3 separate regions of the Homo sapiens genome follow, and regions 1 and 2 are each linked to region 3. Evidence: promoter capture Hi-C in human tissues and cell types (Jung and others, 2019). All regions are on one chromosome and are shown on one strand. Each heading gives the region's core, a stretch centred on a gene start or on the middle of the fragment in contact. The rest is flanking DNA. Distances are from core to core; before and after follow the strand shown. Region 1 overlaps CYB561D1 (cytochrome b561 family member D1). Region 2 overlaps LINC01768 (long intergenic non-protein coding RNA 1768). Region 3 holds the start of GSTM1 (glutathione S-transferase mu 1).

The links. The method cuts DNA at HindIII sites, captures the fragments that hold promoters and counts their contacts. A contact is called where the count stands out against the background at its distance.
Region 1: a contact is called between a fragment that was not itself captured here and the fragment with the promoter of GSTM1 in region 3, in 2 of the 25 tissues and cell types used here (heart left ventricle and lymphoblastoid cells).
Region 2: a fragment that was not itself captured here is called in contact with the fragment with the promoter of GSTM1 in region 3 in 2 of the 25 tissues and cell types used here (pancreas and thymus).

What each region holds. Positions count from the first base shown.
Region 1 is chr1:109,499,890-109,502,613 of GRCh38, forward strand. CYB561D1 (cytochrome b561 family member D1) reads left to right here. Exons shown (of 3, transcript NM_182580.3): 3 at 1-546. Among named protein-coding and RNA genes, the nearest start is that of CYB561D1, 7.2 kb to the left of the region's middle. RefSeq lists an enhancer at 1-99. The HindIII fragment of the contact is 8,294 bases long and covers 1-2,724 here.
Region 2 is chr1:109,890,113-109,892,812 of GRCh38, forward strand. All of the region lies in intron 4 of LINC01768 (long intergenic non-protein coding RNA 1768), which reads left to right. Among named protein-coding and RNA genes, the nearest start is that of CSF1, 19 kb to the right of the region's middle. RefSeq lists an enhancer at 135-429. The HindIII fragment of the contact is 4,600 bases long and covers 1-2,700 here.
Region 3 is chr1:109,686,388-109,689,087 of GRCh38, forward strand. GSTM1 (glutathione S-transferase mu 1) reads left to right here and starts at 1,430. Exons shown (of 8, transcript NM_000561.4): 1 at 1,430-1,522; 2 at 1,783-1,858; 3 at 2,286-2,350; 4 at 2,661-2,700. The coding sequence starts at 1,487. RefSeq lists an enhancer at 1,480-1,529. The HindIII fragment of the contact is 14,943 bases long and covers 1-2,700 here.

The sequences.
Region 1 (2,724 bases), core at 221-2,720, 190 kb before region 3:
ATCTTGCTGCTAGCCACGCCTTGCAGTGACTTCTCGTCTGGGAGTGGGCACTGAGTCCTCTCAGTAAACTAATAAGACTTGCACCTGACAAAGGTCAAGATATGTAGGGAACACAGTGTATGCTAGGCTGAGACCTATGGTGGTGGCAGGGGTGGCTGTTGAGCCTGAACTTCCAGTACTCCTGCCCTTCCTTCTGTTTACCTGGCTTGGCCTACAGGGGGCACCCCTGGTCTTGATGCCTCAAGCCCAGCATTTCTGGGTCCCCTCTGCAAGCTCAGAGAGCAGGGAGGCTTCTGGTAGTGCTCTTGATGCTCCTGTGTCTGGTTGGCACAAAGATCCTGTGTAACATGAAATGAAAGGTGCATCAGCTTGGGGGCTGGGAAACCTGCAGTATGGGTTTACTCCGTCCCTATCACTGGTGTGGCTGTGGGCAAACCACTTATTGCCTGACCTACCTCACAGGGATGTTGTGAGGGTTTGATGAGAGAATGAATGTTAATAGGAATTGGAAAATTCAAAGCATTAAACACATGTAAACAGGTGGTATTATTATGTTCTTGTCCTTCTCTTTCACTGAGCCAGGCTTTGGGCTTTATGCTTCTTAGGCAATAAACAGTTATGGATAATGACAGGGGATCTAAGTCTCAGAGAGTTGTTCTGGCCATCATAAGAAAACATGGACACATTTCTTCCTTCCAGATGCAAGGTCAGCTCTTACCAACTCCTGCCAGAAATGCCACCACGGCCATGACTAGTGAAGTTTGCCGTAAGTGCTGCCTACCTGGTGTTCCCAAATCACAGGGCAGACTGCAGATCTCGGAGTCAGTACAATTCCTCCCTAGGTCCAGCCTGAAGTTCCTGGAGCTGGTCTTCGTAGGGAGCTGCAGGTCACAAGTCTATCTAAATCTCTCCTAATTCTGCCCTTCTGAGGGAAAAGTGGAGCAGACAAGCTAGGAAGGGAGGAGCAACTGGAGCAAACAGCATCGCCACAGACCCTCTGTTTACCGAAGCCACAGAATGAGCAACACCTGCCTCAGGCATTGGAGATGCAGAGCAGGGACCCCTGGCTTCCCAGGGTCCACAGCCTGGTTTCCCTTTCCCCATTTCAGGCTCGTGGAATAGGATCAGTCCCCTCCTCCTCCAAGTGCTTTATTGGCATTCACATACACACACACACACACGCACACACACACACTGAAAGCAGTTCTGTTTAAGTTTTAAATTGGGGAAGAATACTTTCCATTCCATTTGTCTGAGAGCAGCAGCAGTCTGCCTGGAGTGGATGCAAAGAAGCAGGAACAGCAAAACAGCAGTGCAGAGGCTTGAATATTCGTTTTTTATCTTAATTGCTTTTTCTGTCCTGGGATCCAGGAATGAAACACTAGTCAGGCATTGTGTGCAGAGCCTCAGCAGTTCTCACCAGCACTGCACAAAGACGACAAGCTGAAAGGCAGAACTGCCCTGGAGGGTGGTTTGAAGTAGCCCGTCTCCAGCATGGCGCTGGGCTTAACCCCTTCATGTAGGCAGAAATTACCTCCAGTGAGGGGACCTTCCCCCTACCCACCCACTCAGGAGACTCAGCTAGTCACCAGATGCATCACAGAATAACAATCTCAGTTTATAATCCTGCTATTGCTAGGATTTCCCAGATGAGTTTTTAACCTCTGTTGGAAGCAGATTAAGGAACGACTTCAGGCTATTCAGTGGCATCTGAGGAGCCAACTCTGTCTCACTGAGTATACATGAGTGGCCCCCTAGCACCCCTATCTTTAAAGCAGATACCCAGTTATCTCATGGTGCTTTCTAAGGATGCTCAGTTCTGCTCAGGCCCCCCAAAAGCAAACTATGACCAAGTGAGGGAGCAGTGGGAGGTAAGGGAAATGCAGCACAAAGTACAATCCAACTCCAGTACTTGCCAACCTGTATGTGTGCGCACATGCACGCATACACCAGCCTTGGAGGCAATGACTCCTGCCTAATGTATGCCAGTGCCAAAGGGCATCCAGAAGTCCCACTGCAGGGCTCCACGTCCTGGCTCACTGCAGGTTGGTTCTCTCAGGCCATGGTTCCAACCAGGGAGAGTAAACAAGCTGACTAGATTGGAGGCGTCAGGGCAGGTCTAAGTGTCTTCACCATTTTGCATTTTCCACCTAAGAGTGTAGAAGCCTGATGAAGGGGCTTGACTGGCAGCTGCTTTAGCCTTCCTCTCTCAAGCCCCAGGAGAGGAAGCATTCAGCACAGGCTGACTGTGACTAGACCAGAAAAGCCAACCGTCCCACTGCAGGGGCCTGAGCCTTTTCTGCTATGTGGGTGGAGAAAGTGAAGCTTCCCCACTGGTTTCCTGGGAGATACAAGATAAGTGGTGCAAGAAGTGCATGCAGAAAGGGAAGGAGTTGAGAGACTGGGGGGAAGAGAGGCCAGGTTAACCAATGCACTGAACTCTTACCTATTCTCAAAGAAAACTGTCATATTAGCCTCCTCCCTCCCCGCAAGTGCTACCTAAGAGGAGCCAGGGTAAGTGCTGCAAGGCATGGCAGACAAAATTGCACATCTTGGCCAGAATCTAAGGAACTTCTTGTGGTTTGGGGGAGGTGGTGAGGATGTGGGTGGTGGGTGGGTGGGGGGTGTTGAAGAGATGCAGCCATGGACTTCCTTGGGCTTGGCACAGGCCAAAACAGAAGAGAGAACTCCAAACTCCAAGTAGTCCTCATCAGACTTGCTCTC
Region 2 (2,700 bases), core at 49-2,548, 200 kb after region 3:
AGGTGTGAGAAAAGAGAATGCAGGAAAAAGGGGGCTGCTGGATTGAAAGAAAACAGAGGGATCCATGGACGGGGTACCTGATGGGGTCAGAGGTCAAGAGTAGACAAAGTGATTGAGTGGAGAAGCTGAGAGTATAGAGAAGGCCATCAAGATTAGTGATTTCAGAGGTGAGGGAGTTCTGGGTGGTGACTAAGTCTAGGGAGTGGTGATGGGAGTGGGTGGCCAAGTCACAGTGGGACAGAAGGTTGTCAGAGATGGGGAAAGCCAGCAGCTCAGAGGCTAGGGTGTGGGCTGCCACTCTCACGGACATAAAGTCATCCCGATGATGACAGGGGCTCCCTGTACACACCACACCTTACCTCTCCTGGCAACACCCCACTGTGTCTCAACCATGTGGGTTGCTATGGTGGTGGGTGTATGTGGGATGGTGGTAGTTAAAACTGGGAGGGCTCTGTGAGATGTTTCCATAATAGGAAGAGATTTTGTCACTTGTGTAAGCTTTGAACAAAATGGGTTCCTCAAAGTCCTCACATAGCTTGTTATCAAGATGAATCAGGATTGAGAAAATCTAAGATTCGTCCTCTACTCCCATGCTGATGGCAGCCCAGAATGGAACGCCTCCTCCCCTTCCCCCACTCCTGGAGCCTGCTCCTCTCTCATGTCCTCCCAGCCACTCTGTGTAGATAATTCAGTCTCACTCTCATGTCACCAACTCTGCCTCTTTCTATTTATTCCCACTGTACCTGTTCTGATTCATGTTATTGCCACCAGTCTCCTAACATTACATTGCTTCTTAACTGATTTATCTGCTCCACCCTTTCCCTCCAACTTTCCCCAGCTCCCCCTTCCAGGGGAGAGAGGACAAAGAGAGGACACTCCTAGAAATAAACTCTCCAAAATACACCCTTCCCACAGCCGTCAGCAGAGCCTCTGCAAAATGCGGGTCAGTTTAGATGACTCCTGTCATGGAAACTTCTCAGAGGGTCTCTGTGTCTACAGAACAAAGACGACACTCCTTGCTTAGCACGATACCAAGACTCCTCCTCGCCTGACCACCTACATCTCCTCCCTCCATGTCCTATGCGCCAGTCCCTGTGGGCTTTTGTATGTTAGCTGTAACAAAGCATGTACTTTCCTGACTCATGCTCTCCTCCTGTTTCTCTGGCTGGCAAGAGCCTGTGCATCCCATAGGGCTTAGCCGCAATCACACCTTCTCTTTGGTGCCTTTTTTATCCTCATAGTTCAAAATTAATCAGCCCTTTCTCTACAACAAAGCCAGCATGTTGTCAAATCTCTATTTAGCATATATTGTCAGCCTTGTATTGCAGTCAACTGTTTAGAAATCGTTCATGTAACACTTATCTATAAATATGTTTAGTTGTGTGAGACGCTGAGGACACAAAGACAGAAGGCCAGTCCCTGCCTTCAGAGTGTTCATGTTTTGGTGATGGGGGAATGGGAGTTTCTGCTAGGCTGCCAGGCAATGGCACAGCTTAGTGGTATATGCTGTGATGCTTGAAGGACGTCTACCCAGACGAGGGTCAGGGAAGACTTCCTGTGGGAAGATGACATCTCAGCTGAGGCTGGAGGGAGGAGCTGCCTGGCTTTTCAGGTAATTCCACCATGTAGTAGAATTACCAGTTTATATGTCTCTCTCCCCAGCTACAATCTAAATTTCTGAAGTTCAGAGAAATGTTTTACTTATCGCTGAGTCCCCACACCTCATTCCAGAGGCTGGCACATCTTAAACCACAGTGATGATTGTTAGGATGGGCCTCTAGACTCCTGGAAGGCAGGAGCTCTGTCTTCTCCATTCTTTTATTCTTCTCTCTTCCAGTGCCTTGTAGCGAAGCCTTGGCAGATTGGGTGTTTTCTGAAATGAGTTACAAGAGAGCTTCCCGGAAGTAGCAGGTGCTCTGGGGACACATGAGCAAACAGTTGGCCTGGGATGTGTCTCAGACTAGACAAGTGCACACAACTCATGTGACTGCTGTCTAGACCCCAGATGCCAGCAAGCTGATGCTCATCCCAGCTGGGCTCCCTGAGGCTGGCTGACCGAACAAGACCTCCCAGCTTTGGCCTGTTGTCCATCATTCTTTCCTACACGCTGCCAGGAAACGGACAGGGAAGGGGCACTTCCAGCAAGCAGAGACAGGGCCAAGAACTCCAGGGACCAGGCTGGAGTGACTTACCGGGACAGCGTGGGGGCACACTGAGATGCACCAGCAGAATGCCTCCTGCCCGGGCTAGAGATTGGACCCCAGCATGGTTTTGGAGGCTGTAGATTCAGCAGTTGTGGTGTCACGAGTCACTCATCTCAAATAAAGGACAGGGGGAACTCAGTGTGAGCCCCAAACAAGAAGCTCACAGGCAGCTTCTGAGCCCTGGGGAGAAATTGTTTGCTCCTGGGCTGGGTGGTAAGGGGGGGTTCTCCAGTGGACCCTCCTTCCTCCACCTACTTGCCACCAATTTGTATTGGGGAGGGGTTGGTATGCAGAGGGTGAAGACAGTATCATAAAAGCAGGAAAGTGTCCTGAATTCCAGGGCTGAGGAAACTCCCCCTGGGGCTCTATAGTTCCTACCAGGAAGTGGGGAATTCCCAGCAGCTTGCAGTGGGTGGTGGGGAGGTGGAGAGGGAGAAGTTTCCAGAGGGTCAGGGCTTCCTTAGGAAGGGCCCTCCCATCCTGAGGCAAATCTCTG
Region 3 (2,700 bases), core at 180-2,679:
AAGCTGAAAAAAGCCAGTACCTTTATACAGAGGCTGGATGTAACAAAAGCCCACCAAGAGTTTTGCTTAGGCCTTTCCTGGGCCTTAAAGCATGACAAAACAATGAAGGAATTCTTAACAGGACCTATTTAGAATTAAACAAGTTTTATTGTGAGTCTGAAGAAACTCCCCAGGCCTCCACAAACAAGTTTATTGGGCGTCTGAAGGAACTCCCCAAACCTCCGTGATTTAGCAGGAGACAAGATAAGGGTAATCATCCCCCGCACCTGGACCCATTTAGATTAAATAAATAGACTGAGGCTCCAGAATAAGGTCCTCAGGACCCAGACCTCAGTTACAGATTAAAGAAGTTAATCACTTATGTCTTTAGATGAATGCACACTTACTTGTAGACATATACCTTAGAAGGTATATATGCTCTGGAAAACTTTGTAATATTGAGTTGGTCTGGTGGTAATTTCTAGGCCTTCTCCCTGTTACCGGTTGCAGAAATAAAACCTCTCTTCCTCCCCATTTGATCTGCATCTCGTTATTGGGCCTAGAGAAATAGCAGCCGGACCCTCAGTTTGGTCCGGGAAGTTCTTCCATCCTCCCTCGCCTGCTCTCTGTGGCCACTGCACTCACTGTTGCTGTTGCTGTTCCGGTCTCTGTGAGGTTCACCTAGTGGACTGGCTGGACATTTCTAGGGGGCACCTCAGATACCTCACCAACTTGCTGGATCTGATCCTTGGATTTCGATTCATAAATTGTGCCAAAATACGAAGTGGCTAATTTACACAGTACTTAGCCAGATGACCGAAGGACTCAGTACCCGAGGGCCCCTAACAGAAAACACAGACCACATTTCCTTTACTCTGGCCCTTTTCCTGGGGGTCCTTCCTATACCACTGACACTGTTCCTGTGTAGGCGGGGCTAGAGGGGAGACTAAGCCCTGGGAGTAGCTTTCGGATCAGAGGAAGTCCTGCTCTTACAGTGACAGGGGCTGAATTAAATTCCCAGGTTGGGGCCACCACTTTTTAGTCTGACCCCTGCAGCCGGAGTCTCCCAGAGCCCTTGGGAACTCGGCAGCGGAGAGAAGGCTGAGGGACACCGCGGGCAGGGAGGAGAAGGGAGAAGAGCTTTGCTCCGTTAGGATCTGGCTGGTGTCTCAAGCGCACAGCCAAGTCGCTGTGGACCTAGCAAGGGCTGGATGGACTCGTGGAGCCTCAGGGCTGGGTAGGGAAGCTGGCGAGGCCGAGCCCCGCCTTGGGCTTCTGGGCGCCCTGACTTCGCTCCCGGAACCCTCGGGCCTGGGAGGCGGGAGGAAGTCTTACTGAGTGCAGCCCCAGGCGCCCTCTCCCGGGCCTCCAGAATGGCGCCTTTCGGGTTGTGGCGGGCCGAGGGGCGGGGTCGCAGCAAGGCCCCGCCTGTCCCCTCTCCGGAGCTCTTATACTCTGAGCCCTGCTCGGTTTAGGCCTGTCTGCGGAATCCGCACCAACCAGCACCATGCCCATGATACTGGGGTACTGGGACATCCGCGGGGTGAGCGAGGGTCCGCTGGACGGTGGGACGAGGGCGCAGGGGAGGGAAGTGCGAAGCAGCTGCGGGACGGACTCTAGGGACCGTTCCTCTTCAGGGCTGCCCGCCTCAGAAGGGCCTGTGCATGCCGCTGTGTGTGTGTTGGGGGTGTGGGCGGGTAGAGGAGGCAACGGGTACGTGCAGTGTAAACTGGGGGCTTCCCTGGTGCAGACAAAGTCAGGGACCCTCCATCTCTGACGCGACCTGCGGGCCATCTCTCCCAGCTGGCCCACGCCATCCGCCTGCTCCTGGAATACACAGACTCAAGCTATGAGGAAAAGAAGTACACGATGGGGGACGGTAATGGCACCCTCGTGTTCGGGCTCTGCCCACTCACGCTAAGTTGGCACCAAGCAACCCATGGTGGCCACCTGTGGCTGCCTCTGCAGGCCTCCCCTGCTGGAGCTGCAGGCTGTCTCTTCCCTGAGCCCCGGTGAGGGAGCCCTCTGGCCTTGCAAGGCAGAATGCTGGGGTGGGATGCTGGGCCCCCTGTCTAATTGGGACGGGTGTCCCTCAGGGCTTGCCTAAACCCTGGAAGCCTTAGCTGTGTGGGGTCCAGAGCCCTCAGCGGGATTCTTTGTCCCTGAACCCTGGGATGTGGGACTGAGTGGTCAGATTCTAGATCCACCTGTCTCAGGGATCTTGCCACTGGCTCCGTGGGAGGGTCCCCGGGAAGGAGGGCTGGGCTCTGGGGAGGTTTGTTTTCACTTCTTCTTCCCCACCACAGCTCCTGATTATGACAGAAGCCAGTGGCTGAATGAAAAATTCAAGCTGGGCCTGGACTTTCCCAATGTAGGTGCAGGGGAAGGGGCGGTTTTGGGGGAAAGTGCAACGTGTCTCTGACTGCATCTCCTCTCCCCAGCTTAGAGGTGTTAAGATCAGGAGTCTTCTGCCCAATTCCTCTCACTCCTGGCTGTCTAAACAGTCCTTCCATGATGTTCTGTGTCCACCTGCATTCGTTCATGTGACAGTATTCTTATTTCAGTCCTGCCATGAGCAGGCACAGTGAGTGCCCGGTCTCCTCTCTGCTCTTGCTTATGGGAAGGGGATGCTGGGGAGCCTGGTGGCCCAACTGAGCTTCGCCGGTTTCCCATCCATCCAGCTGCCCTACTTGATTGATGGGGCTCACAAGATCACCCAGA